7 separate regions of the Homo sapiens genome follow, and regions 1, 2, 3, 5, 6 and 7 are each linked to region 4. Evidence: promoter capture Hi-C in 16 types of primary human blood cells and fetal thymus (Javierre and others, 2016). All regions are on one chromosome and are shown on one strand. Each heading gives the region's core, a stretch centred on a gene start or on the middle of the fragment in contact. The rest is flanking DNA. Distances are from core to core; before and after follow the strand shown.

Region 1 (3,009 bases), core at 235-2,734, 370 kb after region 4:
AATATCCCATTAGGCAAAAGTGAGGAGCAGCAGCAGCTCCTCTGTAGCCTGTCTGTGGACCTAACATGCTACGGGAGTGCTCAAAGGCTGGGTTAGCCTGTGGTGTCCAGAGATATCCTAAAGTGATGGAATAGCCCTAGGGATAATGTAGAAAAGCCAATGACAGAATGCTCAAGATTTGTAAATCCATTTCCTTGAACTAAATGAAGTGGAGTCACTTTTTGAGAATAATTTTACTTGTCAAAGCTTGCTCCGGAGGAAAGAAGTTCTCTCTTGAGAACTTTCATAATTCCCAGTCACTTTGAATTTTCTAGTGTAAGTAAAATTGTTGGTTAGCTGTAAGACAAATTATTTAGCTTTCATTTCCCCTGGGGTTCTCAAAATGAAAGAGGAATGACAGCATTGAGATGCCAGGATACTATATGTTTCTGAAACATTATGTTGTAAATCCCATTTTTAAATACCATCGCAAAAGGCTCGTTATGGTAGCTCTTCCTGGATGAGTCTCTTTAAAAAGGAAGAGTTTCTTTGGAAGACTATTGTCACATTCTATTTCATCTGGTAATAAGTTTAGATTTTGTGTTTCAGATTTTTGTAAAGAAGGACAGTCACAAGCAGTAAATGCAAACTATCAGAGTTGAAAGAGATCTAGCATTACCACAGTAGTTGAAACCCATATTTAACCCCCAAAGTGGCATGCCATTATATATCTTCTCTACCATTTGCATGGAAACACAAGAATATTAGATGTGGCGAGCAGTTTAACTTAACCTGTGGTCTAAGTACTTTATTTTACGGTTTTATCTATTCATTTATTCTTCAAATAATCATTGAGAACCTCTATGTTACAGGTACTATTTTAGGCATTAGGGCTATACCAGTGGACAAAATAGATAAAATCCCTCTCACCTTGGAACTTGCATTAAAGTGAGTAAAGACAGGTTATAAAATGGTAAATAAACGTAATATATAGTTTGTCAGGTGGAGATAAGTGCTAAGCAGAACATGAAAGCAGGGGAGCTTGCGTGGCATATGTAACATGTGGGATATAGGGAGGAGTAAAAAGAGAAGTAAGCAGTTTTAGACAGGGTGACCGGGGAAGGTTTCATCAAGAGGGTGTTTTTGTTGTTGTTGTTGTTTTTAAGGTAAATATTTGAAAGATGAGCACTATTGAGCCATATAAAATCACGGAAAGAAAATGGTCGAGGAAGTGGGTATAGCATGAGCAGAGGCACTCTGGCAGGAATTGACAGCTGTATTTTTGGAACAGCAAGGCAGCCAGTGAAGATGGAGCAGAGTGAGCAATAGCAGAGTGATAGAGGTGAGGTCAGAGAGGTGATGTCCTGTTGAGTTTTTAGATAATTGTAAGAATTTTGGATTTTTGTGAGACAGAATTTTCTGTTCAAGAAGCCATTGGGTTTGATCAGAGATGTGATATAATTTGATCTAAAGGATCGTTGCAGTGGTTTTGTTGAACCTGAATTATAGTGAGAAAGGTTGGAAGCAGATCAGCTGGGATGCTATTGCAATATTTAAGAATGAGATTGTGAGAAGTACTCAAATTCTACCTTGTATTTATGAATGTTCTTCAGACACAGGATTTCCTAGCAATTTAAGTAAAGGTAATGACAGAAAGTGAGGATTTAAGGATGTCTCAACAGTTTTTGGCCTAAGCAACTGTAAGAATAGAATTGGCGGCCAGGTGATGTGGCTCACGCCTGTAATCCCAGCACTTTGGGAGGCCGAGGTGAGGGGAATCACTTAAGGTCAAGAGTTTGCGACCAGCCTGGCCAACATGGAGAAACCCCATTTCTACTAAAAACACAAAAAATTAACCAGGCATGGTGGCAGACACCGGTAGTCCCCGCTACTCAGGAGGCTGAGTCAGGAGAATCGCTTGAACCCAGGAGGTGGAGGTTGCAGTGAGCCTAGATTGCGCCACTGTACTTCAGCCTAGGTGACAGAGCAAGACTCCATCTCAAAAAAATAAAATAAAATAAATAGAGTTGGCAGTTTTTGAATGGGGTCCTGAGATACAGAGGGATCAATGGGTAAGAGATACAAGATTCTTTTTTTTGTATGTTAAAGTCTAAAAGGTTACTATACATCTAAGAGCAGATGTAAAGTAAGTAGTTATGTATGATTCTGCAGTTCAGGAGAAAAGTCCAGGCTGCAGATATGTTTGGTTGTTATGTATGTATAGGTAATATTTAAAGATCCCTTTGGAATGAGATTACCTTGGGAATGAGTATAGATAGAAAAGAGAAAAGGACTCAGGACTAATCTCTTGGCATTCCCACATTTAGATGAAAAAATGAGGCCCCAGAGAGGGGAAGTAGTAGAGGTAGCATAGGTGTATTTCAAAATAGCTAAGACTAGAACTCAGTGGACTCTCCTCAGTAGACAGCCCTAATAAGATTACTTTTGAGTAGCCTGACTTTTCACTCTTTTTTTTCTATGCTATTCTTCTGAGTAGTAAACTGGGAAGATTTTGGACAAGAAAAAAAGTCAGATTATACATCATTGGTTCTCTCTTTAAATAATCAAAACTTGCATTCACTTACTGTGTTTCTGCTAGTTGGTGGGTCTAAAAATTAAAGTAGGAAAATAAGGTTATTAAATAATTATCCCCCTCTATTCTGTCAACAGTGTATTTTCTTTTAAGTCACTGGGAGGTCTAGCATGGGTCAGAGGTGTCTAGGGTGTAACAGGAGTAAGCTTTGACCAGACTTTATAGTAGTTAGAGATTTTTAAATCTAACTTAAAGAGCATAGTAGCAAGCCTAAATTTCAGGTCTACAAAAGGGCCAAAATATTCAGAAACTTTGTAAATGAGTTCATCATCTAGATTGAAAGTCAGCTTTTGTTATTTGCCATGAATGTTCAAAATGTTAATATATAACATTTGTTTAAAACTTTCAAATTTTGGAAGTTTCCAACATTTATTTTCTTATTTGGCTTTCACAAATTCCCAGCACAGAATGACTTTTCACTCTTTGTAAGACTTGTT
Region 2 (3,258 bases), core at 279-2,778, 470 kb after region 4:
GACCCTGGTTGTAATAGAATGTTTCAACAAACTGATTGACGTATAAAATGATAAAGAATTCAAACAACTACCTGCTCAAAAATCACTCAAACTAGATGATTATGTAGGAAATTTGACCAATTCTTCAAAGACCATTCTTTTTTAAATTGTTCCAAAGCATAGAAATAAAATAAGAAAAAGTTTGAAATAAATGTAATATTGATAACTAAGCTTGACAAAGACACACACACAAAACTAGGAAATCATGTTTCCTTATGAATATTGATTCAAGAATCCTAAGTATTTGCAAATGAAACCTGCCAACAAGGTGTCAAGGAAATAATACATCATCACCAAACCATATTTGCTCTGGAGATTAAAGACTCATATTAAGAAATCTATTAATGTAAATCCTTATATTAGTATTAGGAAATATATTAATATAAATCCTTATATTAATAGTTCTCAAGTAAATAATCATTTGATTCCATTGATATGTTCCACAAAGTTCAACACAAAAGAGAAACAAGTGACCCTACCTCTATGTTGATTGATAACATATTTATATAGAAAAACTTAATCTGAGAAAATAATATTTTGAAGGTACACTCAATAAAATGTTCTAAGAAAAAAGGAAATGCACAGAAATTGTGAGCTTTATTAAGTTTTATTGGTGATGGCATTGGTATAGACATTTTAACACTGGTTTTTGTACTGTAGGATGAAAGAAAGGGTAAATATGGAATAGGAAAAGGCAAGGACAAATGCTATGGTATTGTATTTGAATTTTTGTTAGCATTAATGATTAAATACATGCAATTAAGCCATGGAAAGATTCAGAAGCAATGTTACTCTGGTAGCGATAAGTATACTTTTTCCCCAGATCTTGGCTTCTAAACATCATTTTTCACTACAAATAACTGGAATCCTTAGAGATATAACTGAATCTATGTCTTTGGCAGAGTAAGTACAAAGTGACCTTGAAACATTTTGTTGTGGCAGAGAGTAAAGGAGTATCATGAATTGAGGGTACATATCAAAATGATCCAGAATCCAGCTTAACTGGACTCCCATTATCAAAATTTGAGATGATTTGATTATTAACAATAATCATAATCTTGCTTCTAGCTATGAAGGAGTAGTTTGCATCTGACTAGTATTACAACTAAGAACAACTATAAAACCTGGATTTTAATTTTAATTTAATTTAATTTTATTATTTTTTGCTCATATGGGGACTGACAACTATAAAACCTGGATTTTTAAAAGCAGTGGTTTGAAATCATTAGAGAGAAATCAAGGCAAACAGGATTTAAGGAGCCATGATCCCAAAAGAAAAAAAAAAGGGCATTGAGGTTAGTTGTAGATCAGCACCACTATTTTTCCTCCTGAAATTTGTCAATTTGCTTCAGTGCATAAAGCAGGAGGAGAAATTTAAGTAGTCTTGCTAGAATGGGATGTCCCCAAAAATTGGAGTTCAAGACGCTTAGTCAACCAAATTTGAGGTATTCAGATCCTTACGTAAAGAAAATTGCAGAAAGAAAACTCAAGAAAATGTCTAATGTCACTTAGACTGGTTTAGATTTCTGGTCTATGTCTTTCTCCCATGCTGGACTCTTCTTGCCCTTGAATATTGGACTCCAAGTTTGTCAGCCTTGAGACTCGGACTGGCTTCCTTGCTCTTCAGCTGGCAGATGGCCTATTGTGGGACCTCGCCTTGTGATTGTGTGAGTCAGTACTCCTTAATAAACTCCCCTTTATGTATACATCTATCCTATTAGTTATGTCCCTCTAGAGAACTCTGACTAATACAGATTTTGGTATTAGTCAATGTTTCTGAGAAAAAAAATCTTAAAAGTTGTTAGAGAATAAAAACACATTACTTTCAAAGAAGCAGGTACAAGACTGGCTGTGAAGAAAAAGCATTAACTATATAAAAAGATTAATAAAATTTACTTCATTAAAATTTAAAAACTTTATTCATCAAAAGACATCATTAAAAGGATGAAGAAATTACTCATACAGTAGAGAAGATACCACTTTTTTAAAAATAAATAAGCAAAAGTCTTTGAGAGAGTTTACAAGATGACGATCCATCTGATCAAAAAAAGAGAAATGTCCTCAACATTGTTAATCAGCAGAGAAGTAAAAATTAAAACCTAGTGAGGTCCACTACACATCCAGAGAAAGTGTTATACTTAAAAAACGACATTAACAAATGTTGTCAAGGAGCTCTCATATGCAGCTGATGAAAGTATAAAGTTGGTGCAACCACTTTGAAACTATTTGTCAATATTTACCAATAATAAACACATGCAGATCTATGACTCACAATTCTACTCTCATGTGTATACTAACATAAATGTAAATTTAAACTCAACAAAGACATGAATAAGAATGTTCATAGAAGAATAAGGCAATATTGCCTCACACCAGAAATATCGTAGGTATCCAATCACAGTAAAGGTGTAAGGTCAAAGAACTCTTGAAACTCAACAGTAAAAGAAAAAAATCCAATTAGGAAACGAACAGAAGGCATGAATAGAGACATTCCACCAAAGAGGATATACAGATGGCAAATAAGCACATGATAATATGTTCAACATCAGTAGCCACTAGTGACATGCAAATTTAAACTACAATAAGATGTCATAACATATCTGTCATAATGGATAAAATTTGTTTATGATATCATCAAATACTGACAAGAATTCAGAAAAACTGGAATCAAACATTGCTGTTGGGAATGTAAACTGTTACAGCCACTCTTGAAAATAGTAGGCAATTTCTTATAAAATAAAACATACAACCACTGTAAACCCAGCATTTGTGTTCTTGGGCATTTATGCCATAGAATAAAAGCTTATGCTCACACAAAAACCAATACATAAATATTCATAACACTTACGTGTAATAACCCAAAACTGTAAACAAACTGCAAATTGTCAATGGGCAAATGGCTAACAGACAGTGATACATTCTTACCATGGAATATTACTCAGCAATTAAAAGGGAAATATACTGAGTGAAAAAAAGCGAATCCCAAATGGTTACATACAGTATAACTCCATTTATGTAACATTATTGAATTGACAAAATTAAAGATAAGGAAAACAGATTAGTGGTTGCCAGGTGTTGCGGATGTGGAAGGTAGATGTGGTTATAAAAGTGCAACACAACTGCAGGGCGCGGTGGCTCATGCTAGTAATCCCAGCACTTTGGGAGGCCGAGGTGGGCAGATCACGAGGTCAGGAGATCGAGACCATCCTGGCTAACACG
Region 3 (3,164 bases), core at 58-2,557, 490 kb after region 4:
AACTTAAGGAAGGGATATAGAGAGAGTGAGTGTGCCCCATGGTAGCTTTAATCTGGCAAAGCAGAACAACACGAATGGAGCAAAAGTCTCAAAGCAAAATCTCTCACTCAAAAGACAGTGTGCCTTACTAATTAAGAACAAAGGATTTGGAGTTATGGAGGCCTATACCTGAGTCCCAGATGTGCTGCTTACCTACTGTCTGACTTGGAAACATTGTTTAACCCCACTGAACCTTAATTTTCTACCCTGTGGATGAAATCTATGATACCTACACCATGAGGTTGTCTTGAAGAACTAGAGGACATAATTTATAAAAAAGACTTAGATGAATATCTAATATGTGCAGGCCAAGATGGTAACTATTACTATCAAGATGAGCCCTGCTGCATTCTCACCCTTATTTACTCTTTTTAATTTTCTGGAAATCTTGCTATTTCAGTCATCTTTCTGAGATGCTTATCAAGGATTGGCTCTTAAGAGCACATGGCTTTGTATCAGATACAGCTATGTTTGAGTTTGGACTACAACATTTATTTACTATTTATGTTACTCTATGCAGGTCAGTCTACCTTTACAAAGCTCAGTTTTTGGACTTGTAAAATAGGAATAATACGCATACATCTTGATAGAGATGGGCCTAGTTAAAAGATTAAGTTAGATTAAATGAGACTATAAATTTTAATAAAAACAAGAACCCTATCTTATACAACGTGGTGTTCCTTGCATCTGGCAATGTGCCTTGCATATAATTAGTGCTCAATAAATAGTTGTTAAAGGAAACAATTAATAATGCATGAATACAGCTTTTAATACAGTGTCTTACACATATTAAGTGGGAACTATATCTGTCATACACCAGTTAAAATATATGCGGAGAAACAGAATTGCAGGGCCATTTAATATTTCTCTCAGTAGATACCCATCTGGAATAGCCTCTCAGACTACCAAGATGTCTCTGTAAATGACTCTGACTACTTTTTTCTTAATAAATAAATGCCAGGGAGACAAATTTCAGAGAAGGTGGAGGCAGAAGGGGTTAACAGCTGATTCTGGGCTCTCTTGTAGAGACCTCCAGACTGGCAGAATAAGTTCTGACATTTGGGAATGCTAGGTGGGTAGGTGGGAAGGGATGATACTGAAGGTTGGGAGCTTGCATGAAACAGGTGACTACGAGGAAGGTAAAAGGGTTGAGATTATGAATACCTGGCCTTAAATCCTGCCTTGAAACCTGGAAAAATCACATAGTTTTGCTCTCAACTGCCCCATTTATAAAACAGGAATAACAGTATTTGCAGGATTATCGTGAGAATTAAATGAGAGAGTGGATATAAAAGTGATTTGTAAAATACTGAACCAAAATAAGGAGTCATCCCTCCAGGATGGAACTTTGCTTACTCCATGATTCTATTCAACTCGAAATCCTGACTGAGTCCAAGTTGACCAAACCTAATTAGGTTTCCATCTTATATCATGAATGTTCTCTGGATTTTATGGGAAAAAATAGAATTCATATCAATACAGTAAATATTGATTTTATATGTTTTGAACAAAGTACTTTTTAAATTATCTGAAACCCTCCCTGACCACCCTGGCAGTCAGTTATTCATACATCTGGCAACCACATCACCTTGAACTTCTCTTTCCTCTTGATTACATTTGTTATTTGTCCTCTCTTATAGAACTTGAGCTGGAATTCTAGTGCTTTAAGAAACTCATTAAATGACTGTTGAAAGAACAAATAAATATTTTGAACTGAGAATGAAATATGTTGCCAATTATTTGGTAGACAACATACAGCATAAGTCAAGTGTGTATTACATATAAAGCATCCCTAGTCTAAAAATTTGAAATCCATACTGCACCAAAATTCAAAACTCTTTGATGGCAACATGATGTCACAAGTGGATAATTTCACACCTAACCTTATGTGATGAGTTACAGTCAAAACACAGTCAGAACCTTGTTTCATACACAAAATTATTAAAAATATTATATAAAATTACCTTCAGGCTGTCTGTATAAGGTGTATTTGAAACATTAATGAATCCTATGTTTAGATTTGGGTCTCATTTCAAAGATATCTCACTTATGTATAGGTAAATATTTCAAAGTCCAAAAAGATCTGAAATCCAAGATACTTATGGTTCTATGCATTTCTAATAAGGGATACTCAACCTGAATATATATAAAGAGCACAGACAAAATGCTCTATTATAGTCCAAAATGTGTCAGCCACAATGAAACCCCAAAGAGCTAATCTCACTGGCACTGTGGCACCCACAAAGCTATAAATTTTGATTATTTTCCTAGAGTTGACAATTGCCTAATTGTTTTACTCCTTTGGTATTTTGATCTCCTTTATTAATTTTTCCCAAGCACTTCAACAGAATCATCGAAATCTCTCAGTACTATTTATCATATTGGTAAACTCACCGCATAACTCCTTCTGGAATCCTCTATCATCATGTTACAATCTTAAGTGGTTTCTGTCTATGCCTTTCACACAGCTTCTATGCAGGATAAGTGGAAGATTTACCCTGAAACTTCTCCCCAGAATCCTCCTGAGGATTATCTGTCCCTTTCTTTTTATATCTCTTGTTTATAGATGGGATATTTTCCTTTGTGCCAGCTTATGTTTTCCTTCATGAGAAGCATATCTTCTAATAACATATTGAGAAAGAGAGATGAAGGAATGACACTTCTGAGACTGCTTGAATAGCAGTGCCTCTATTATATGCTTATGCTTGATTTTTTAGGAGGTGAGGTATAGAACCATAGATAAGAAATTATTTTCCCTTAGAATCTTATAGTATTGTTCCATTTCTGTCAAGCTTTGGCATTAATATTGAGCATTTAAAATTACCTAATTTCAGTTTCAGTGCTGATTTTTCTCTCTGGAAGGTTGTACATATTTCCTTAATATTTGATGTTCAAAATTTTCATGATGATATGTCTTGGCCTGGGTTTTTGTTTTTGTATTTTTATTGTTTTGCATTTTTGTTAGAGACCACGTTTGTTTACTCAGCAACTGTTATTTCCGCCGGGCACAGTGGTTCACGCCTGTAATCCCAGCACTTTGGGAGGCCGAGGCGGGCGGATCACGAGGTCAAGAGTTTCAGACCATCCTGGCCAACATGGTGAAACCCCGTCTCTACTAAAAATAC
Region 4 (3,342 bases), core at 212-2,711:
ATTGTATGTTGGACATAAGATTATTAGTAATGCATTCTTGAGATCTTTTATTTTGGAATGATGCTAACTCTGTCTCTTTGCCAATTCTAATACCAGGTTCCAAGTAATAACTCTACAGTACAAAGAGAACTGAATATTCATTCTAGGGCTATAGGATATGAACTTCACAATTCATTTGGGTACATTCTCATTGAATTTCCTTCAAAACAATCTGTTCCTGGTGCCCAGTGATAATTCAGTCGGGACCAGCATGACTAAAAGGAAGGGGATATGCTAAGGCTCAGCAAAGTGACCCTAAATGAGAGATATGTCCCAGGATGGAAAGAAGAAGACGTGGTTTAACCAAGTTATACTGACTAATCTAAGCAGTCCACTCATCCTTCCATTTTGGGAAAGGAGTGGGGGCAGCCTAAGAAGAACATATCTGGATTGGGAAGAACCGTCTTTCTGGGCTAGGGATGGGGAACAGAAAGGGAGTATGGAAAGAAAAATTATAAGAGATTTGACTGAAGCAAGGAAAAAAAGCAAATCCCCAAACGTGCTAATCCTTGAAAGTAACTATCTTTCCCAAACTACTGCTGTTACCAGCAAGTGATCAGGAAGACTAGGAGCTATTTCTGACTGTAAATGAATTGTATAATAGCTCTGCTGCAGTTCTGTGACTTCCAAGCCAGGAATTAAATGCTCTTTTTAAGAATAACAAAAAACAAAAGCATTTCCTATGCTAGTCTCCCAGTAAAATGTACATGTTTTGGAGACTTCAAAGGTATTATGTGAGTTCACATTTAGCAACAGCTTATTAATAACCCTCAAGCTGTCAGAATCTCTATAGTTACCATTTACAATTTTATACTGTGAAAAAATACAGATCAGTGAAAGCATAAAGACAAGTCAGAATTCACTTTGAAGAGGGTCTGAGGCCTGGGAGAGTCTCTACTGTCTATTGAAGAATGAGGCATGTATAAAATAGTTGGTTGAATTTCACTGATCTTCCCAATGTGAACAAATATACTATGTATATTGTGTGTATTTCTAGAAATCAATGGCAGCTGCTGATGGTGTTGTAATTAGAAATCTATATAGATTATAGATGTTTTAGAAAGATGGTGCCAATCCTAAAAGATTTGTGTGGGCTAAAAGTGCTTGTACTTACTTTTTTCTGCACTTATAACTGATTTGGTTTTAAAATTGTGTGCGTGTATCTGTTCTTTCTCTGTTGTGGCAGCTTGTACTATTAAAATAATAGAGAATGTTAAATTATTTTGATGTGAACTGCAAATGATTTTTTTTCATAAAGTTTAACATTTTTATCAGCATTGTTTTGCTTTGTACTTGTATAAATATGTTTTATTTTAGCACTTCAAAATATACTTGCCTGTTTCTCAGTTGTCTAAATCATGTTGTACTTGGTGTTTGTGAAGCCAGTTACTTTTCAAAAAAATTAAAAAACCTATAATATGATTTTAAGATTATTCCCCTCAAATGTTTAGAATGTTGTCTTAATAGTGTTTTCTGAGATGAAAAGAGCCATGATACTAATTAATCTTGAATACTGGATGATCTATACATTTGAATTATGGGGTTTACAAAGTAAGCAGTGGACTGTATAGATTTAAATGAAAATATAAACCAACCACAAACCAACCAGAGATGTTGTCCCCAAACACATCTACAAACAACTGTTACATAAAGAAGTACTTAAAAAAATATATAGGAAATATGCATTGTTTATGCATCTAGACATACAAATTATAGAAATAGTTTCATAATTATATGTGTTGATAGAGGTAACATCACACAGATAAAATAGATTATTTGTGTGTGTATAGATGTGTGTTTACAAACATACATATTTATATAGACATTTGACTTTTGAGTCCATCTGCATGTGTCTCTGTGTATATGTGTGTTTGTGTGTAGATGTATGTGCATATTACATAATTTTTCCAGAAAAAAAAAAAGTTTTACTTTGACTGATTCTTGAGCAAATATACATTCCCTGGACACAAATTAGTGAAAAACTAACAGCAGAATATAAGGTAGATGCTTGATGTATGGAAGAGAAAAACAAGGTATATTTAAAAATATATTTGATTTATGCTTCTGACATTGTATTAAATGCATAATGATATATATACATATGTAGATACATATATTATACAGAATGTGTTTGATCTTAACAAAGAAAGCCATTTTATCTGTTTTGTCAGACTCTTCCCTTCAGTATCTTTTATTCTAACGTGATATGAATGGTAATATGTTCACATAAAATTGAGGATGAAGTGACATATACAAACCAGGTACAGGAAATTACCTTCTAAAAATCCAAAGAGCCTTATCAGACTCCATCAAATTATGGAAGGCCATTTAAAACCAGCGGATGCAATAGAAATAGCATTGAATTAAAAGCCAGGATCTCTTACCTGTCACCAACTGACTTTGGATAAATCACTCTGATTTCTCTACAACTTGTTCCTCTTGCTTTAAATGCAGAAGTGAGTTACAATAATCTGTGAAGTTTCTATCATTTCAACATTCCTGATAAATGCTCAATAGTAGCTATTATTAGTGTCAATGTAGTATTTAGTATACAGTTAATATTCAGCAGGAAGCTTAAATTTGTTATATCAATGTTATTTGTGGAGCTTAACAAGTTCCTGTCCAACTTAAAGCATATATCCTGGAGGAAACCTATTGAGGTTTGAACTCATATGCAACCTTGGAACTGTCTATCAAGGACAACTTAGTAAATTGATATTGAACACCACAGAGAGAATGCTTTTCCTCTGTTATAATTGCTGCTGAATGCTGGCCAAGTTTTTGGTTATGCTGTACATGAATGATCAGTTTTAGAACATAAACAATTTGCAAATATTTACTTTGTATGATAGCTAGGCAGAAAGGTAGGTAAGCACATAGATAGGCAGAATTATATTAATGAAGTTATCTCCTTAAGCAAAAGCTTGGTATTTACATTTTCTCTCACAGTATTTTAAAACTCAGAATCAGTTATTACATCTCACTCTGTTTATTACTTTTAGGTTATTATGTTAGTAAATAAGTTCTATGAAGAGAATGTTTAAACTCATCTTCTCCAGCCACTCTTAGAATCCTGAACCAAAAGTTTCCAGGAACACTTAACCTCCACTAGAATAAATGTTTTAAATTACTGTTACACCAGGACAAAGACATTTATTTTTGCCAGGACATAAGTCTCTTTGAGGTATGATCTATATACAGGATACCTATGTGATATACATATCAGACACTTTGGCTTATTTATGTATAGCTTGTATTTTTATTCATTGACATTAAAAATAAAAATTTTCATACTATCAGATT
Region 5 (3,172 bases), core at 422-2,921, 420 kb after region 4:
GAAAACTGGAGAGGATAAGGAAAGAAGCAGAAGATCAGTTAGAGAGCAATTGCAAAAATTAGGAGAGTGATGCTGGAATCTTAGATCTGGATGCCTTCAATGAAGTTATTGAGAAGTGAGACTGAATAAATGTTAAAGATGGAGCTTGCAGGATTTTCTGATGAATGGAGATGTGGGATTGAGAGATAAAGGTCAAAGATGACTCCTATGTTTTGGATCAGAGCAACTGGAATAGTCGTGTTGCTCTTTCTTGAGATGGGATAGATTGCGGGAGATGCATATTTGAGAGAGAAGATTAGGCGTTTGTTTTAGCTATGTTAAATTTGAGGTTCCTATTAGATATCTGGGTGGTTTTGTCTCCTGACAGTGTTTACTTCCCAATGCCTCTGCCACAGGAGGCATCCAGGCTGACATTTTCTGCTCAGACTCCTAAAATTGATCTCCTTCCTTTTTGGCTTTGCATGTCCTGAATCATCCTACAAATATTTTTTTTTCTTTCTAATATATTAAGATGATTAACATTTTTGCTCAAAATTTCAGTATCTTCTCATTGCTTATTTAATTTAGTAGACTCTCCTTAGCTTGAGCATTGATTGGTCTAAACTATTATGAACATTGGCAAATATATAGATATGTAACTACCAAAACAATTCTATTATTGATCATTTTCATCACCCCAGAAAGCTTGCTCTTGTGTCAATTTCCATCTCTCATCCCAATCCCTGGCAACTACCGATCTGATTTTTGTCTTAGAAATTAATTTTGAGCCTTTTTCGGATGCAACGTAAATGAAATCATAGCATATCTAGGTTTCTGTGTTTGGAATTTTTCACTTAGCATAAGGCCTTTCTGATATATCCTTTTTGTTACATGTATTAGTAGTTCATTCTGCTCTATTGCCAAGTAGTAAGGTATACTGCAACTTTTTTTATCCCTTCACCAGTTGAAGGATATTGGGCTTTTCCAGATTTTGGTTTTTATGAACAAAGCTGCTACAGAGGGTTGAATGTGGCGTTCCAAAAGGTATGTCCACCTGGAACTTCAGAATGTGACCTTAATTGGAAAAAGGGTCTTTGCAGATATAATTAAGGTAAGACTCTTGAAACAAGACCATCTTGAATTAGGGCGGGTTGTGAGTCAATGATGGATGTCCTTCTATGAAATACAGAAGGAGCAAACACACAGCGACACAGAGGGGAGAAGGCTATGTAAAGATGGATGCAGAGATTCAATAATGTGTCACAAGCCAAGGAATGCTAACTAAGGATTACCAATAGCCACCAGAAGCTAGCAGATAGGAATAGAATGGATTCTTCCTTAGAGCTTCCAGGAGGAGCCAACCCTGTCAGCACCTTAACATCCATAACTTCTGGCATCTATAACTATGAGACAAAAAATTTCTGTTGTTTTAAGTTGTCAGGTTTGGAGTATGTGTTATGTCAGCTGTAGAAAACTAACACAGCTTCTATAAACATTAATATACAGGTCTTTGTGTGGACATACATTTTTATTTCTCTTGTGTAAATACTTAGAGTGGGATTGCTGGGTAGTATAACAAAGCTATGTTTCAATTTCTAAGAAACTTCCAAACTTTTTCCATAGTGATTATACTACTTTTCATTTCAACCAACAATATATGACTGTTTCAATTGTTTTGCACATTTGTCATCATTTGATATTGTAAATTTTGTGTCTTTTATTTTGTTTTAGCCATTGTAGTTAATGTGTAGTGGTGTTATTTTCTGTTTTTCTAATGATTAATTATGAGAATCTTTAAATGAGTATTTTTTATATAGTGTCTTAAAATATTTTGTCCAACTTTTATTTGTTTGTTTGTTTCCTATTGAGTTGTAAGTATGTTGGCAGGTAGGGTTTAAGATGGCTTTGTTATCTTTCTTTCATTATTATTTTATTTTCTTCTTTCTTTTCTTTCTCTTCCTCCCTCCCTCCCTCCCTCCCTCCTTCCTTCCTTCCTTCCTTCCATGCTAAATTGCTCATCAAACCACCAAATGCTGCCTTGATGGAAAAATGATTCTCCATTAAGTTATTTTATTAATTAACCACACTTGGGTATCAGGGGCGAGGTGCTAAGTTTTTGGACTTCGTCTTGTGTTCACTTGATGTAAAAATCTATCTGTACACAAACATACTACTGTGATGTTTATTGCAACTTCAAATTGAGTCTTAAAATCAGTTTACGTGGGTTTTCCAACTTTTTTTTTAATTGTTTGGAGTATTCTGGATCCTTCTTTTTTCTATTTAAATGTTAGAATCTGTTTGTCACTTTCTCAAAGAATGTGCTACAATTTTGATTCGGCTTGCATCAGATCCATAGATCAGTTGGAGAAGAACTCATACCCTAACAATGTTGAGTAGTCCAATTAATACATACAGTATATATATCACCTTTTATTTGGATCTTTTAAACACTTTTTTCATCAATATTTTTCTTCATGTAGTAGTTTAGAGCCTTATGAATGTTGCATATTTATTATTGGATTTATCTTTACTTTTTACATCGTTGTAATATTTTAAAAGTTAAATTTCTAATTGTGTGTAGCTAGCGAATGAATAATTTTTTTGTTTTGTTTTGTTTTTATATATTGACCTTGTATCCTGAAACACTGAGAAGCTCACTCTTTACTTGTAGAAGCTTTTGATAGATTCCTTGGGATTTTTTCTATGTATGGAAATGCCATCAGCTGATACAGACAGTTTTATTTCTCCATTTCCTATCTATATATCTTTATTTTTGTTTTTTTATTTATTGAACTGTCTAGTATCTCATGTAAAATGTTAATTAGAAATAATGATAGTATATATTCCTATCTTGTTCTCAGTCTTAGGGAAAAAGTATTTGCTTTGTTTCCATTAAATATAATATTAGGTAAAGGTTTTTGTTAGATGCCTGCCATCAGATTTAGGAATAACCCATTATTCCTAGTGTATTAAGAGTTTTTATCTTAAATGAGAATTCAATTCTTTCAAATGATTTTTGTGCATCTACCGAGATTACTATATTTTTTTTCTTTTTTATGATGTTTATGTGGTGAATTACTTAGATTGATTTGCACATGTTGAACTAGCTTTGCATTCCTGGGATAAACTCCATTTGCTAATGATGTATTACATTTTTTATATTACTAGGTTTGGTTTGTACATATTTTCTTAA
Region 6 (3,142 bases), core at 98-2,597, 450 kb after region 4:
AAACCATGTTGGGCGCATTCCCAGGTTAATATTTGCTTCCCTTTGGGTTTTTTGCTAAAATTCAAACTAATACTCCAAGTTACTTAATTGCTTCACTGAGGTGTGTCAAAGTTAATTGAAGTATTACATGTTTTATTTTTCCATCTTATACATAAAACTTGAGGCTGTTAGAATGCAGAAAACTACCCAGAAATGTTGTCAAGTCAAGGAGACCTGGTTCATCCTAGCCTGGTTCTTCAAGCCTCAAAAAAACAAGATGAAGATGGAAGGCCAGTTAGAGGGACTGTTACTCTACATGCAAGAAAAATGTTATCTGTCATTCAGACTTGAGTTTCTATCTCTTATTCTTCATAATAGCTAAGTTCTTAGAGATGTGGCTGGGTGTGTGCTTTATATGCATTAATCCTTACAACAGTCAGGTGATGCGGGCATAACATCTTCATTCTTCGCAGTTCGTGAACATGAGATCAAGGCAGGTTTAATGACTTGGCAAGTTCACATACAAGTTAAAAGGAAAATGTGAGATGTGCAAAAAATTCTATCTGGTTTCAAAATTTGTACTCTTTACACTACATGCTGCATGATCTTTTCTTGCTGTATGAGCAGCAATGACATAAGTAAGAATGCCTTTCTCATCTTATTCATTCAAACATTTTCTTTTCCACCTGGCCAGTGACTTTGCTATGAGGAAAAAATAAAAAAAAAAAAAAAGCTTAAGTCCTTTCTCCTAACAGTGCACCTGGTTAAGAACTAAAGTAGCTATTTGTCCTTGGCAAGTCACTGCGTATCAAGGCTTTTGATAAAATTCATTTAAATTTTCTGCTTTTTGTCTCATGGCCCCAACCTCCTGATTTTATTTGGTTTTAACTTTTATTTCCCATTATGAGAGAAGCTCCTATTGGTTTTTATAAATGCATCTTTCTCACTGGACGCACAGCTGTCTGATGACTTTCATGTTCATCTGATAATTTTCCAGGACATGAACAGAAGGCATGGAATATATATATATATTCCATATATATGTGTGTATATATATATATTCCATATATATGTGTGTATATATATATATTCCATATATATGTGTGTGTATATATATATATTCCATATATATGTGTGTGTATATATATATATTCCATATATATGTGTGTGTATATATATATTCCATATATATGTGTGTGTATATATATATTCCATATATATGTGTGTATATATATATTCCATATATATGTGTGTGTATATATATATTCCATATATATGTGTGTATATATATATTCCATATATATGTGTGTATATATATATTCCATATATATGTGTGTATATATATATTCCATATATATGTGTGTATATATATATTCCATATATATTGTATATATAATATATATATTCCATATATATGTGTATATATATAATATATATTCCATATATATGTGTATATATATAATATATATATTCCATATATGTATATATTATATATATTCCATATATATGTGTATATATATTATATATACACACACAACATATATATAACATATATATCATATATATCATATATATAATTTATATATATATATATATATATATATATATATATATATATATATGAAATTTTTTCCTTCTGCCCTGGGAGGCAGTAATGAGAGGTATAAAAATTTGTATTAACCTCCACCCCACTTTTTATTTTTGGTCAGCCAAATGCCCAGCAAGTAAAGAGACTCCACAAACTGAAAGATTCCTTGCTGTCAAAGGTGGCCTCAATTTCTTCTAGGTCACTGAAGATTTTCATCTATTAGAAAACAGCTTTGAGGGAAACTGCCAGGAGCATAGTCATTAATGTAGCATTGATAGTTCAATGTCAGGAACTTTTGAGAATGGAGGAAATTATGAGATACTTTTTTCTTCACATTTTAAAAAAGAGAGTATCTATTTGATAAAATTCAAATACAGACCTAAGGAAGCATATGAACAAGACCTAAGTAAGCTTTTGAGTGAAAAAGACCTAGGGTTGAAATCCAGTTCTATTGTTACCTTTTTGTAGTGGTTTTTATATGATTCAATGCATACATTAAATTTCATAGGGCCGTATACCAAAATATTTGGAAGGTTTTCAGGCATTATTAATTCAACTATATTTTCAGCACCAAACTCTTCCTCTTCACTTTTTGGGACGGACAGCATAAATATTAGACATCTTGCTTTTGACCTATAGATCTCTGAGACTGTTACATATTTTAATCTCTTTTTTTTCTGTTATTCAGGCTGGAGAAGTTCTACTGATCTATCTAAAAGTTTTCTGACTCTTTCTTCTATTCTCTATTCATCTCTATTTCACTGTCAACCCCAACAGGTGAGTTGTTTATTCTTTTATTATTTATTTATTTTGAGGCGGAGTTTCGCTCTTGCTGCCCAGGCTGGGGTGCAATGGTGCAATCTTAGCTCACTGCAACCTCCACCTCCCTGGTTCAAGCAATTCTCCTGCTTTAGCCTCCCAAGTAGCTGGGATTACAGGCATGAGTCACCATGCCCAGCTAATTTTTTGTATTTAGTAGAGAAGGTGTTTCGCCATGTGGGTCAGGCTGGTCTCAAACTCCTGACCTCAGGTGATCTACCAGCCTCGGCCTCCGAAAGTGCTAGGATTACAGGCATGAGCCACTGCGCCCAGCCCTTTATTTAGTTATTATATTTTTTAGCTCTAAACTGTCATTTAGTTATTCCTATGGTTCTAATACTTTGCTGAAACTTTCTATTTTTTGTTTCAAAAGGTTTCAAAATTCCATATTGGGACAATTTTATAATGCCTGCTTTATAGACTTTGTCAGATAATTTCAACATCTGTGCTATCTCAGTCTTGGCATCTGTTGATTGCTTTTTCCCATGTAAGTTGAGATTCTCCTTGTTTTTCACATGATGACTAATTTTTGACTGTATCCTGTTTAAACAGCATACAAAATGTTGACTTTTTTTTTTTTGTTAGGTTCCGGCTGCAAGTTCAGTTTCACCTTCTGTGGGGGTTGTCTATTGTTCCAATGTCAGTTGAGTTTTCAAAGCCTTTGCTTCTATCCGTCCTGCTTGTGCTCCACCTAGTATGGTGGACCTAGGTGGTGATGTATGTCACCACTCAGTTGTCAAGGATTTGGAGGTGCTG
Region 7 (3,399 bases), core at 396-2,895, 390 kb after region 4:
AGTAATATGACTCCATTCAATGATCTCAAAATATATCAACAACTTTGACATACATGCAAAAATCAGGGATAAGTATTTCCACTTCAGATTGGACAACAAGGTTCTGTAGTAAAACATTTTAACAACGAGAAAGCCTTGTCTCTTTAAGTATGAAGAAATACATCAAAGAAGTTCTACAAATTGTGATTAAAAACAATCAAATTTAACTTTATTGCAGATCTTTAACTACTTTTTACCTAATCAAAGATATTTATTTTAGTACACTGGTAGTATATTTTCTATATGTCTTAGGTTTCTGACCAGCAGGAACAAAAAAAGCAGTTTAACTTATACTACTGACATATTTTAGATTCAAATGTTTGCTCCATATTTTTTCCAAATTCAAGTTTATTTCATTTTTGAACCTAAACTTATATTTCCAGTTTTACTTTTTTCCTTGAGGAGTTATATCCATCTGGAATGTCTAGATAATGCCAGGGTTTATTTGGGGTAATAACCTCAAATCTCAGTGGGTTAAAATAGCAAAGATCATCATTCTCATGCACACTACATAGCATGGGCTGATTGGGATACTTGCCTCTACTTGATTCTCACTCACAGACCTTATCCAAAAGAGTTTCCATTGCTGTGCTTCCACAGGGAGAAACAGAAAAAACAGGAAACTGAGCACTGGCTCTTATTGCTCCTATATGAAAGTGACACACATTACTTCTCACATTTTGACGCCCAACAAGTCACATGTCCATGGCTAAGTTCAAAGAGGTCAGAACAGTGTACTCTTCCCCATTTCACTAGAATATAGAGACCCAGAAATATCTGTGAAACCATTAATGCATACTATAAAAGATGTCTTATCATTCTTATTTTATATCAAGGTCACAAAAATAGTATGTGGCAGAGGGCAATTATAAATCTAAGTCAGATTAAAGGTTTATGTTTCTTCTACAATATTTTTATAGTTTGAGTATGTGAAAATGTGAAAATAAGAAAATTGCCCTCTAACTGAAATTTAACCTACTAAGTACATTTACCAGACACCATTCCTCCTATATGACATAGCAAAATAAATACTTCTTTTTTGAGGAACCAAACAGTAAAGTTCTTTGAAGGAACAAATAAGAGTGAGGGAAACAGGAGGGGGATGCATATGTAGCATATAGGAAGGAATATTTAAATGAATTGTCACATATAAGTCTCTGCTCTAGCATTATTTCAGAGTATTGAATAAGAAAAGCTGTTTTATTTTTTCCCTCATAGGAAAATATAAACATTGATGAAGCCTCCAGATGCCTGGTGAAACACATACTTGCAAATGAGTGTGACCTAATGGAGTCTATTGAGCCGGACGTCGTGAAGCCCCATCTCACATCAACCAAGGTTGCCAGCTGCTCTGGCTGTGCCAAATCCTAGTAGGCACCTTTGCTGGTGTCTGGTAGGAATGACCTCATTGTTCCACAAATTGTGCCTCTATTTTTACCATTTTGGGTAAACGTCAGGATAGAGATACCACATGTGGCAAGCCAAAGATCTATGCCTCTGTTTTTTCAGTGAGAGAGAAATAGCAAATGTTCTTTCTATGCTTTCCTCACCATCATCACAGTGTTTACAAACTTTTGAAAATATTTAGTCTGTTACAAACTTCTGTCATGTAGCTGACCAAAATCCTGCAGGGCCACAGTCGGCACTGTTATTTGCTTCTTTTAATCAGCAAAGGCCTCAAGTCTTAAAATAAAAGGGGAGAAGAACAAACTAGCTGTCAAGTCAAGGACTGGCTTTCACCTTGCCCTGGTGTCTTTTTCCAGATTTCAGTATATTCTCTGATGGCCTGACAGGCCTATTAAGTAGATGTGATATTTTCTCCCAAGATGACCTCCATTCTCGGCAGACCTAAGAGTTGCCTCTGAGTTAGCTCTTTGGAATCGTGAACACAGGTGTGCTATATTGTCCTTGTCCTAACTGTCACTTGCCATGGCCTGAATGTTGGCTTAACTGAATATTGTATGAAAAGACATGCCTCCATATGTGCCTTTCTGTTAGCTTTCTCTGACTCAAGCTGTGGGGCTCCTCTATACATGCTATACATGTAATATATATTATATATATTTTTGCAAGTGAACAATAAAACATTAAAAGATGCTGTTTCCCTATTTATGAAAGTGCTTTAAGTTTCTTAGTGTTGTGAAGGGATTTTTTTTTTTTTCGGACAAAGTAAACAGGGTTCTCAAGATCCATTTCTAAAATTTTATTTCAAGGAGGAGATGAGAAATGTATGCTTAAAGAAACTGCTGGACACTATTAAAACTGGGATGAGTCTATGCCATCTGCATTTACTGTTCATATTGACATTTAGGCTACAGAGTGTACAGTGCATATACATATTTTTAGTTAATCAGAGGAATATGTCCTCATAGATTCTGATTAAGAAAGGTGCCAGATCAATCAACATAAAAAGAAACAATAAAATATGCATTGTGACACCTTGGTTTACACAGTGGTTGTGGTGCTGACACGTGCAGGTAGCTATTATTTTTTAATGTCATTATTTCATATTAATATTTGTAATACACTCACAGGAGTCGTATATACATATATATATATATATATTTTGTTGTTGTTGTTGTTGTTGAGACGGAGTCTTGCTATGTCACCAGGCTGGAGTGCAGTGGCGCGATCTCAGCTCACTGCAACTTCCACCTCCTGGGTTCAAGCGATTCTCCTGCCTCAGCCTCCTGAGTAGCTGGGACTACAGGCATGTGCCACCACGCCCAGCTAATTTTTGTATTTTTAATAGAGACGAGGTTTATCAGGATCCTGCTATTTTCCTGTAAGGGTCTTGACTTTAGTGGAGGAAACGTGGTAGCTCTGTCAGCTTGGCCTCTTACAACTCTGCAGGATCCTGAGATAGAGGATGAGATATGTGGGTACATATCCTTAAGAGTCTTGAATCCCCAAATTCTTTGGAAACTCTGACCTAGAAAAAGAGGCCTTCTACTCTTTCCAGTGGGAGAACAGTTAATTGCTACATAAAAGCCCTGCCTCAGTAGGAAGTTTTAAGGTGAGGCTTGCCCATATCAAGTTCTGCCCCCATTTCTCCTCATTGCTTCTAGACAAATAACTAGGGCCAAGTCTCAGCATGATCTGAGTGGAAAAGGATGATCTGTGTTGCAGGATGAAATGGATTATTTATCAAATGAACTACAGAATCTGGCTAGTAAATATTAGTAGTAATGTAGAGAACAATCCATGAATTGGTCTTGATATACTGAAATATTGGATCATGGCGATAAGGCCGGATAATAGATACTCTACTTATATGAGGAAATACTTTCATGAGTTAATTTTTAACATTCTGACAAGTCTACCTGGCATTGATTCTAATATGCTATTGGAATGGCTTGG

What was found. Contacts are between HindIII fragments. The CHiCAGO score rates a contact against its expected background, and 5 or more counts as called.
Region 1: a fragment that was not itself captured here is called in contact with the fragment with the promoter of GRM5-AS1 in region 4 in 5 of 17 cell types (neutrophils, total CD4 T cells, total B cells and 2 more); the score reaches 8.6 in neutrophils.
Region 2: a contact is called between a fragment that was not itself captured here and the fragment with the promoter of GRM5-AS1 in region 4, in 11 of 17 cell types (naive CD8 T cells, non-activated CD4 T cells, activated CD4 T cells and 8 more). The highest score is 8.5, in naive CD8 T cells.
Region 3: a contact is called between a fragment that was not itself captured here and the fragment with the promoter of GRM5-AS1 in region 4, in 8 of 17 cell types (monocytes, non-activated CD4 T cells, M2 macrophages and 5 more). The highest score is 8.5, in monocytes.
Region 5: a contact is called between a fragment that was not itself captured here and the fragment with the promoter of GRM5-AS1 in region 4, in 4 of 17 cell types (total B cells, activated CD4 T cells, total CD4 T cells and 1 more). The highest score is 8.1, in total B cells.
Region 6: a fragment that was not itself captured here is called in contact with the fragment with the promoter of GRM5-AS1 in region 4 in 4 of 17 cell types (erythroblasts, monocytes, neutrophils and 1 more); the score reaches 6.6 in erythroblasts.
Region 7: a contact is called between a fragment that was not itself captured here and the fragment with the promoter of GRM5-AS1 in region 4, in 11 of 17 cell types (naive CD8 T cells, activated CD4 T cells, neutrophils and 8 more). The highest score is 9.5, in naive CD8 T cells.

The regions. Positions count from the first base shown.
Region 1 is chr11:88,133,230-88,136,238 of GRCh38, reverse strand. The region is part of intron 2 of RAB38 (RAB38, member RAS oncogene family); the gene reads left to right. Among named protein-coding and RNA genes, the nearest start is that of RAB38, 41 kb to the left of the region's middle. The HindIII fragment of the contact is 2,472 bases long and covers 249-2,720 here.
Region 2 is chr11:88,033,928-88,037,185 of GRCh38, reverse strand. It overlaps a transcript of RAB38 not described here. Among named protein-coding and RNA genes, the nearest start is that of RAB38, 140 kb to the left of the region's middle. The HindIII fragment of the contact is 2,631 bases long and covers 213-2,843 here.
Region 3 is chr11:88,008,846-88,012,009 of GRCh38, reverse strand. It overlaps a transcript of RAB38 not described here. Among named protein-coding and RNA genes, the nearest start is that of RAB38, 170 kb to the left of the region's middle. The HindIII fragment of the contact is 3,053 bases long and covers 1-2,833 here.
Region 4 is chr11:88,502,695-88,506,036 of GRCh38, reverse strand. It overlaps GRM5-AS1 (GRM5 antisense RNA 1), which reads right to left and starts at 1,461. Exons shown (of 6, transcript NR_049724.1): 1 at 1-1,461. GRM5 (glutamate metabotropic receptor 5) reads left to right here. Exons shown (of 10, transcript NM_001143831.3): 10 at 1-1,395. The HindIII fragment of the contact is 8,959 bases long and covers 1-2,614 here.
Region 5 is chr11:88,079,644-88,082,815 of GRCh38, reverse strand. It overlaps a transcript of RAB38 not described here. Among named protein-coding and RNA genes, the nearest start is that of RAB38, 94 kb to the left of the region's middle. The HindIII fragment of the contact is 1,969 bases long and covers 687-2,655 here.
Region 6 is chr11:88,051,361-88,054,502 of GRCh38, reverse strand. It overlaps a transcript of RAB38 not described here. Among named protein-coding and RNA genes, the nearest start is that of RAB38, 120 kb to the left of the region's middle. The HindIII fragment of the contact is 1,266 bases long and covers 715-1,980 here.
Region 7 is chr11:88,111,999-88,115,397 of GRCh38, reverse strand. RAB38 (RAB38, member RAS oncogene family) reads left to right here. Exons shown (of 3, transcript NM_022337.3): 3 at 1,258-2,147. The coding sequence ends at 1,410. Among named protein-coding and RNA genes, the nearest start is that of RAB38, 62 kb to the left of the region's middle. The HindIII fragment of the contact is 3,533 bases long and covers 1-3,399 here.